Linked DNA regions of Homo sapiens: regions 1 and 3 are each linked to region 2. The links are contacts of gene promoters, found by promoter capture Hi-C in human tissues and cell types (Jung and others, 2019). All regions are on one chromosome and are shown on one strand. Each heading gives the region's core, a stretch centred on a gene start or on the middle of the fragment in contact. The rest is flanking DNA. Distances are from core to core; before and after follow the strand shown. Region 1 has its middle 48 kb from the start of COL6A2-DT. Region 2 holds the start of COL6A2 (collagen type VI alpha 2 chain). Region 3 holds the start of FTCD (formimidoyltransferase cyclodeaminase).

The links. The method cuts DNA at HindIII sites, captures the fragments that hold promoters and counts their contacts. A contact is called where the count stands out against the background at its distance.
Region 1: a contact is called between a fragment that was not itself captured here and the fragment with the promoter of COL6A2 in region 2, in 6 of the 25 tissues and cell types used here (IMR-90 fibroblasts, aorta, heart left ventricle and 3 more).
Region 3: a contact is called between the fragment with the promoter of FTCD here and the fragment with the promoter of COL6A2 in region 2, in 4 of the 25 tissues and cell types used here (heart left ventricle, heart right ventricle, mesenchymal stem cells and 1 more).

What each region holds. Positions count from the first base shown.
Region 1 is chr21:46,048,722-46,051,421 of GRCh38, reverse strand. No RefSeq gene overlaps it. Among named protein-coding and RNA genes, the nearest start is that of COL6A2-DT, 48 kb to the left of the region's middle. RefSeq lists enhancers at 688-1,398, 1,399-2,109. The HindIII fragment of the contact is 3,563 bases long and covers 1-2,700 here.
Region 2 is chr21:46,096,695-46,099,458 of GRCh38, reverse strand. It overlaps COL6A2 (collagen type VI alpha 2 chain), which reads right to left and starts at 1,347. Exons shown (of 28, transcript NM_001849.4): 1 at 1,286-1,347. COL6A2-DT (COL6A2 divergent transcript) reads left to right here and starts at 1,814. Exons shown (of 2, transcript NR_186433.1): 1 at 1,814-1,987. RefSeq lists an enhancer at 1,230-1,524. The HindIII fragment of the contact is 26,496 bases long and covers 1-2,764 here.
Region 3 is chr21:46,154,189-46,156,888 of GRCh38, reverse strand. It overlaps FTCD (formimidoyltransferase cyclodeaminase), which reads left to right and starts at 1,310. Exons shown (of 14, transcript NM_206965.2): 1 at 1,310-1,419; 2 at 2,557-2,700. The coding sequence starts at 1,366. RefSeq lists enhancers at 1,537-2,240, 2,241-2,700. The HindIII fragment of the contact is 26,017 bases long and covers 1-2,700 here.

The sequences.
Region 1 (2,700 bases), core at 170-2,669, 48 kb after region 2:
CTTGGAACATTCGTGAGAGCGAGAATGAGAAAGACGGATAATGTGTCAGTTTCATCATCAAAATAAGTTTGGCCTCACAGACCCCCCAGAGCATCTCAGGAACCTCTGCGGTCCCCAGACTGCATTTTGAGAACTGCCGTCCCAAGTTCTTGTGTCCCCTCCTCCCAGGCCAGCCAGCCCCGGGCGTGGGGGGTGCTCCAGGAGCCCACCGCGGTGTTTCAGTCTGGCCTGGAGTGGGGGCTACCGGTGAGGGATCTGCAGTATGGGGTCCTCCCCACGGGGTCCGCATGGCTCAGAGCAGCGCAGGGCTGGGCCAGCCTCTCGAGAACCCAGAGCCGGTCCAGGGCAGAGCCAGGAGCCGACTTGGGGCCTCGTCTGTGGGGGCCTCTCCCATCACAGCTGCCCAGGCCACCGTGCAGCCGCTGGGGACTGTCCAGCCTGGTGCTGGCAGGGTGGGGGCACAGGGCCAGACGCTTTGCTATGGGCTGACCACCAGTGACCACCGCAGCAAGTGGTCTGAAGTGGGCTGTGTGTGGAAATGGCTGTGCGCCCTGCAGAGGTCCCAGGTTCTCCACTCGCCCTCTAGTCCACACCAGACCCCTTGGGAGCTGCAGCAGCCACCCCACCTCGCAGCCTGCATGGCTCCCTGCCCAGCTCTGGATGGGGGACTGCAGGCCCTGGCCCCCTTCACTGTGCCTGGCGGCCCCTGCCCTGCTGTGCCTTGGCTGGGAAGAGCTTGTGCTTGTGGAGCAAAGTGGGGAGCGGTGTCTGCCTTCAACTGAGCATCGCCTGACCCCGGTCCATCTTATTTCCAAGCCTCAGGGGGTCTGATTCCAGAGCCGATGGGACCAGCCCAGTTCCGCACAAGCAGCTGTCGGCCTCGCCGTCCCCGTGCCACCTTGGAGGGCTGACAGTGTGTGTGACAGGGCTAGGCCCCTCTTTCCAGACCCCAGTGTCACCAGCCTGGCTCCCTGGGACAACGTGACGCCCCAATGAGAGAGGATGCCAAGGGCTGCCAGGGTGCGGCCAATGCTCCTGGCTTGTGGGTGACCTGGCCTCACTTCAGGGACCCAGCAGGGAAGCTGTCCACCAGCCGAGTTTGGAAAGCCTGCCCGGGATGGTCAGGGTGCCGTCCACTCGCCACTGTGCTCCGAGGACCCTCCCCAGAGAGCCCCGCTGTGGGCACAGTGAGTTCTGCGGTGGGCCCAGAGGATGGTTTCTCGATGGTGGGGGTCGCGGCGGCTGGAAGCCCTCCCGTACAAACACACTTCGTTCACTGGCCGCTTGGTGGAGGGTCCGCCATGAGGGCGCCGTTTCTTCACTCTCAGCCATGGGCTGTGCCTTGGAGCCCTGTCCTCCAGGTCAGACGCCCAGCGGACATTGGAGTGTTGACCTCCAGGGATGAGGGTGCCAGGTCCCAAGAGTCTGGGTCAGCTGCCGGGAGGTCTGGGGGTGCTGGGACCACAGCAGGATGGGAGCTGGCCAGGGGCCTGTCCCCCCGACCTCCTGTGTGTGGGACTTGGAAAGCTGACTGGGGCCTCCTATTCTTTAAAAAGAACCCAATCATCCATCACACCCCAGGAAGCCCTCTTCAAGCCCAGCAGGCATTTCCTGCTCAGGGCTGGGCTGTCTCCAGGTGTGCGTGCTGAGCGGAACGTTCTCCTGGCTGGAAAATGCGCGTGTTCACCTCATGCCTATGAACAACAGATCTATAGGAAGGGAAGAAGATCAATAAACAAATCCCCTCCCCCAGGAGGAAGCATTAGGCGATTACGCAAAGAACTGGTTTGATGAATTCCCTTGGAAGCAGTGGTACGCGTGTGTCATACGCTGTGGAATTGGCCTCCCCAGCCTCCTATTCAGCGTTCTCCTAACCCCCTGATAAGCAGCTGCAAAATGTGTCAGGCCAACGGGAGACAGGCCAAGTGTGGCCTCCGGCCCGTGTCTTCATCTTCTCAGGGCCTCTCCTAACTGTCCGGCGCATCTGCCTACATTTTCTCAGGAATTGGATCCGCAGATGTCTGGTTATGCAACTGCTTCCCATTTTCAGCCAGAGAAGTTACTCAAGTCGGTTTGGAGAGGAGCTTTGCACGGATTCGGCCAGCTGGGCTTAGTGAGAGGCCCTGGGGCTGTCTGGGACAGAGGAGGGAGGCAGTGCGAATGCCTCTTCCTGGCAACCGGAGCCAGGAAGCCTTTCCAGAGGCCACAGTCACCTTTTCCCAGGTGGTGCCGGAGGAGGAGGCCCTAACTGCTTTCGATGCAGGGGGCTGCCCCTTGAGCTGGGCCAACTGGGAGAAGGTGGACGGGGAGTTGGTCAGCAGGGTAGAGGGCATGGAGGGCGGTGGGTGCAGCTGTCAGGGACCACAAAGTTACAGCAAGCCCAGGAGGAGGTTAGAAAAGGAGGAGGGCTTTGAAGAATCATCTCTGGGGAGGTGCCGTTTACATACAGGAAGATGCACCCACTTAAAGTGTATAGCTTGATGAGTTCTGGCAAATTTATATAACTGTGTGACCATGAACACAATCAAGACAGAGAACATCCATCACTCCAAAAAGATCCCTCATATCATCAGTAACATCCATCACCCCAAAAAGATCCCTCATATCATCAGTAACATCCATCACCCCAAAAGACCCCTCATATCATCAGTAACATCCATCACCCCAAAAAGACCCTTCATATCATCAGTAACATCCATC
Region 2 (2,764 bases), core at 98-2,597:
TTTGAGACAGTCTCGCTCCCTCACCCAGGCTGGAGTGCAGTGGCGCGATCTCAGCTCACTGCAGCCTCCGCCTCCCAGGTTCAAGTGATTTTCTCCTGCCTCAGCCTCCCGATTAGCTGGGATTACAGGTGCCTGCCACCACGCCCGGCTAATTTTTTTTTGTATTTTTAGTAGAGACGGGGTTTCACCCTGTTGGCCAGGCTGGTCTCGAACTCCTGACCTCAGGTGATCTGCCCGCCTCGGCCTCCCCAAGTGTTGGGATTACAGGCGTGAGCCACCGTGCCCGGTCTGGCCTTTCTTGAAATAATCACCAGAGTCGAAGTGCAAGGGGGCCTCCAAGCCAGAGCTGTGTTATCCCAAGAACAAGGAGCTCCGCGGATCGCAGGCCCCTCCTTTCTGGGTTCCGACCCCAAAGGGAAGGTCCCTTCTCCAGGGGCGTCCTAGGCGCGGGCACCGGGGTTCTGCTGGCACAGCCCGGATGGGCGCCGCTCGCCCGCACACCTGCGGCTCCACAGAGGGCCGATCCGTTCGGTTGCCAGCAGTGGAGACCCAGGCCCAGCGGTTCCACCAGCGCCCCGGCGGAGTCCCAGGGCGGGTGTGGGCGGCCCGGCAGGGGCTGCGGGTCGCTGTCAGCCCGGGTCCCGCCGCCCTGGGGAGCCGCCTCCGTCTGCAGCTTCTCCTGGGCCTGGCGGGGCCCTGGTGGGCTCCAGGCCGGGAGGGGCGCAGCGATGGGGCGTCGGGGCCACCCGCGTCCCCTCCCCGCCCAGTCCCGCCCTCGGGCACCGAAAGCCCCTCCTCCCCCCGCCCCGCCGCCCCTTCCGTCCGGCCCGGGGAGAGGCCCTGCGCCCCCGGAGGTCCCAGCCAGCCGGGGCGTCTTCCCCGCGGGCCGGAGCCGGACCCGAACCGCTCGCAGACGCGGGGCCTGGCGGGGCGTGCGGTGCCGGGGTCGTCTCGGGAGCGGGGGTCCCAGCACCGAGCTCGGGCGCAGACAGGGACCCCCCCACCCCGCCCAGGCCGGCTCCGCCCCAGAGGAGGCCGCGGGGAGGTGGCCCCAAGTCGCGCGCCCGAGGGTCGGACCCAGAGACGCGGAGCCACAGGGGCAGGCGCGGCCCCAGCCCCGCGAGGAGGAGCCCCGAACCCGCCGAGCCCCCCGCCGTCCCTGGGGCTGGAGTCCCCCTTCCCGGGGACCCGAGGGACGGAGCCGCCGCCGCCGCCTTCCCAGGACTCGGGGTCACCCCCCGCGGGCCGAGCGGCTTCCAGGGTGCGGGGTCCGGGAGGCGCTCACCTGGTCCCGAGGAGGCTCCGCTCCCGACGGCCCGAGGCGCGGGCGCCGAGTAAGCAGCAGGGAGGGAACCGCGGCCGGCGCCGCCCCCTTTATACCCCGCCCCGCCGGCCTGACCCGCCCCGCCGCCAGGAAGCGCTGCGGCCCCGCGGATGGGAGGAGGGGGCCGGGGGCACGGGAGGGGGATGGGAGGGAAGCGGGGACCCTCGAGGGCGGGAGGCTGGAGGAGGTGGAGAGGGTGGGGACCCCCCTGCAGCCCGGGCCGAGCTCCCCCGCCAGCCCCTGCCCGCTGCTGCTCGGACTTCGCGTCCCGGGCCCGGCCGCCCGTCGCCCCCGCCCCATTTCCCGGACGACCTGGCTGGGGCTGTGTCCGCCTCCGGGGCCCTGGGTGTTGGGGACCGCGCCCCGCACGCAGGGCCGACGGGGGCCCTGGGACTCGCCCCTTGGTAGCAGCTGCCCTGGGGGGTGCAGGGTTCCCCCCATCAGCCCCCCGACCCCTCCCCTACCCCGTGTCCTGTGTCCGGCTTGCTCAGGCCTCCCGCGAGAGGCCCCGGGTCAGGAGCTCCTGCAGAAACTGCCGCTCCTGGGGCCTGAGGGTGGGGAGCCGGGAGGGCAGGGACAGCAGAGCCTGGGCGCGGAGGTTGGGGCAGAGCCTGGGCATGCGGCGAGCCACCCCTGCCACCCCTTTCCCGCTGGAAACCACAGGTGGGCTTGGTGCTGGGCCCTGGGACCACCGTGAGGTCCCCACCTGAGCCCAGCCGGGGACAGAGTGACAGGGGTCCCTGGTAGGGCTCTGTCTGGGGTCCCCACTCCCCACCCTGGTCACAGTCCCCCAGCCAGGGCCGGGGTTCCTCCTTGAGGTGAGGCGCAGCCGGGTTGGGGAGAGGTCCCTGGGCTCCGGGACAGGGCTCCCTTCAGAGCTGTCCTGGAAGGTGGCGGAGCGGCTGGGGGCGAGGTCCCTCTTCTGATGAGCAGGTTTGCAAATGTGGTGTGTGTGTGTGTCTGAGACTGAGTGTGTGTGGTGTGTGCATCTGAGTGTGTGGTGTGTGTCTGTGTCTGAGACTGAGTTTGAGTCTGTGGTGTGTGTATCTGTGTGTGGTGTGTGTCTGTGTCTGAGACTGTGTGCATCTGTGAGTGTGTGGTGTGTGTCTGCGTCTGAGGTTGAGTGTGAATGTGTGTGTCTAAGTGTGCCTGAGTGTGAGTGTATGTGCCTAAGTGTGCCTGAGTGTGGCAGCCACATGGTAGCCATGAGTCCAGGGCTCCTGCCTGCTGCTCCTGAGCACAGCTGACGGCGGGCACCGTGTGCCACTCCCCTGGGTCCATGCCGAACTCTCACCTGGGCAATGCCTCCTGCTTCCAAGCCAGCAGCTCCCAGGGGGAAGCCAGGCCCCTCCTCACAAGACCAGAATCCTTTAGGGGTTACCTTGGCTCCAGAAGTTCTCCCTCGGCCTGGCCAGCACTGTCTAGGGGCACGTGCTGGCC
Region 3 (2,700 bases), core at 61-2,560, 57 kb before region 2:
ACCATCGGATCTCGTGAGACCATTCACTATCACAAAAACAGCACCGGAAAAAGCCGCCCCCGTGATTCAGTGACCTCCCACCGGGTCCCTCCCATGACGTGGGAACTATGGGCTCTACAATTCAAGATGAGATTTAGGTGGGGACACAGCCAAACCATATCACCATGTCTACCAAAAATGGAAAAGTTAGCCAGTGTAGTGGTGTGTGCCTGTGGCCCAGATGCTCAGGAGGCTAAGGTGAAAGGACCTCTTGAGCCTGGGGACCAAGGCTGCAGGAAGCCATGATTGTGCCGCTGCACTCCAGCCTGGCTGACAGAGTGAGACTTTGTCTCAAAAAAAAAAAAAAGAGAAAATGATAAAAGCACTGCAAGTGGGCAGCGGCTGAACGTGGAGACAGGAGTTCTCCCTTCTGAGCACGGCCCTGGTGCCGCTGACTTCGTGGGGAGCCTGTAGTCAGGGGAGCAGCAGCTGGGGAGAGCTGGGGTCTCAGCTGCCTTCCCCCATATCGCACATGCCCGTCTCGTGTGTATCTGCACTCTCACACGCGTGTTCCCCTGCCCTGCGCTCACATGTATCTGCACTCACTCTCACATGCTTGCTTCCCCTGCCCCATGCTCACGTGTACCTGCACTCTCACACGTGTGCTCCCCTACCCCACACTCACATGTATCCTCGCTCACTCTCACACGTGTTCCCCTGTCCTGTGCTCACATGTATCCACGCTCTCACACATGTGCTCCCCTGCCTTGTGCTCACGTGTATCTGCACTCTCACGTGTTCCCCTGCCCTGCCCTCACGTGTATCCTCACTCACTCTCACACGCGTGCTCCCCTGCACTCTCCTGTCTGAGCTGAGCTGACCTCAGTTGGGTGCTGCGAGCCAGGGCCTCATGCTGGCCTCTCGCCCTCCACAGCCCCAGGGGTCCAGGCTCCTCCAGGAACAAACGCAGGCCCCACGGGCTGCCTGGAAGGCCTCCCAGAAGGCAGCACAGGGTCACGAGGGTCACCCGCAGTGGCACAGGGAGGCCTCGTCACGACAGGATTCCAGCCAGGCTGGCCTGATGCTCCTGGGGGTCCTCGGCACATGCCCCTTCACCCTGGCATGTGCTTCTTTTCCGGGAACCCACACTCTGGCTGAGTGGAGCCATCCCCTCTGGGTCAACAGCACCCGGGGTGGCTCTGCAGCACCCCACTCCGCGGCTGCACAGGGACCTTGGCCCCACTGCTCCTTGTGCCTTGCTGGTTAATGAGAAGCCGGTGGGGAGGTGCTGCCGGTGAGCGTATAAAGGCCCTGGCGGCGGCTGCGGAGCACTGGCCCTGTCCTTCCATCTGCCCAGAGAGGAGCATCTGGATCAAGGTGCTGGCCATGTCCCAGCTGGTGGAATGCGTCCCCAACTTTTCGGAGGGGAAGAACCAGGAGGTGAGGCCCGAGGAGCTGGTCAAGCATCTAGGGCTGATGGGGCAGCTTGAGTGGCTAAGGCCCAGGCCATGGAGGAGGTGGTGGGCTTGGTGTCCCGGGTCGTCTTCCCAGGATGGGCAGAGCCGCTGCCCGTGGGCCCCAAGGACATCCCGTGGCTCAGGGCCCTGGGGAGTGCCTGACCCAGGGGTGGGTGGAACACGACTGGTGCTTGTGGGGGCTGAGGCTTGGCTGTGGCTTCAGGGGCCTTTCGGGTGCTTTCGGTGGGGGGTTGGGCAGATCTCTGGGCCTCAAAGGGCCTTGGTGCTCCCCCCTGAAAATGGGGCTCCTGCCACTGACTGAAAGGGCTGTGTGAGGCCACACGAGGTGGCCCAGCATGGTCCCCACTGCCGCCTCTCCATCTCCACTGGAGTTAGCTTGCTGAGCCCCCACCCTGCAGCCACCATCCTCACTGGACCCAAAACGAAGTAGGCACAGAGGGGGCAGCAGGCCCCCAGGTCCGGCCTCTCGCCTTCCACAGCCCTGAGGTCCAGGCTCCTCCGGGAACAAACGCAGGCCCTAAGGGCCACCTGGAAGGCCTCCCAGAGCGCAGCACCAGGCCACAGGGGTCACCCGCAGGGGTGCAGGGAGGCCTCGTCATGCCGGGATTCCAGCCAGCACCAAGGCCCTGGGACAGGGCAAGATTTGGGGCTGAGCCCCTGCTCCCAGCAGTCCTGCCACCCGGAAGGTTCTAGGCCCTTCAGGCCCCTCCCCCATGCTGGTGATCTGTCCCTCCCCTGCTCGGGGGTGGGGGTCCCGGCCCCTCTGTGACCTGCGCCTGTGGTCACCTTCTTGGATCCCCGGCCACGTCTCTGGCATCTGTCTGTCGGAGCAGAGCCCGTGAGTCTCTCCTGGAGGCACCACCTGCAGCCCCTTGTGGGGACTGTGCTTGGGCTGGAGTGACTGTGGCTGCTGTGAGGGTTCCCGGGCGGCCGCTGTGTGCGGGCACTTTCGGTGGGAGCTCAGCTTGTCGGAGAGCCCCCAAAGGCTTGGCCCGCCTCCTCAGCCCCCATTTGTGTCTCGGGGTGCAGCCACCTCCAAGCTCCTTTTCCTTCTTTCAAACGGGGAGACTGAGGTGTGGGGGCCGGGCCTGTGTCCCAGGTGATCGACGCCATCTCTGGAGCCATCACACAGACCCCGGGCTGCGTGCTGCTGGATGTGGACGCAGGCCCTTCCACCAACCGCACCGTGTACACCTTCGTGGGGCCGCCGGAGTGCGTGGTGGAGGGGGCCCTCAACGCTGCC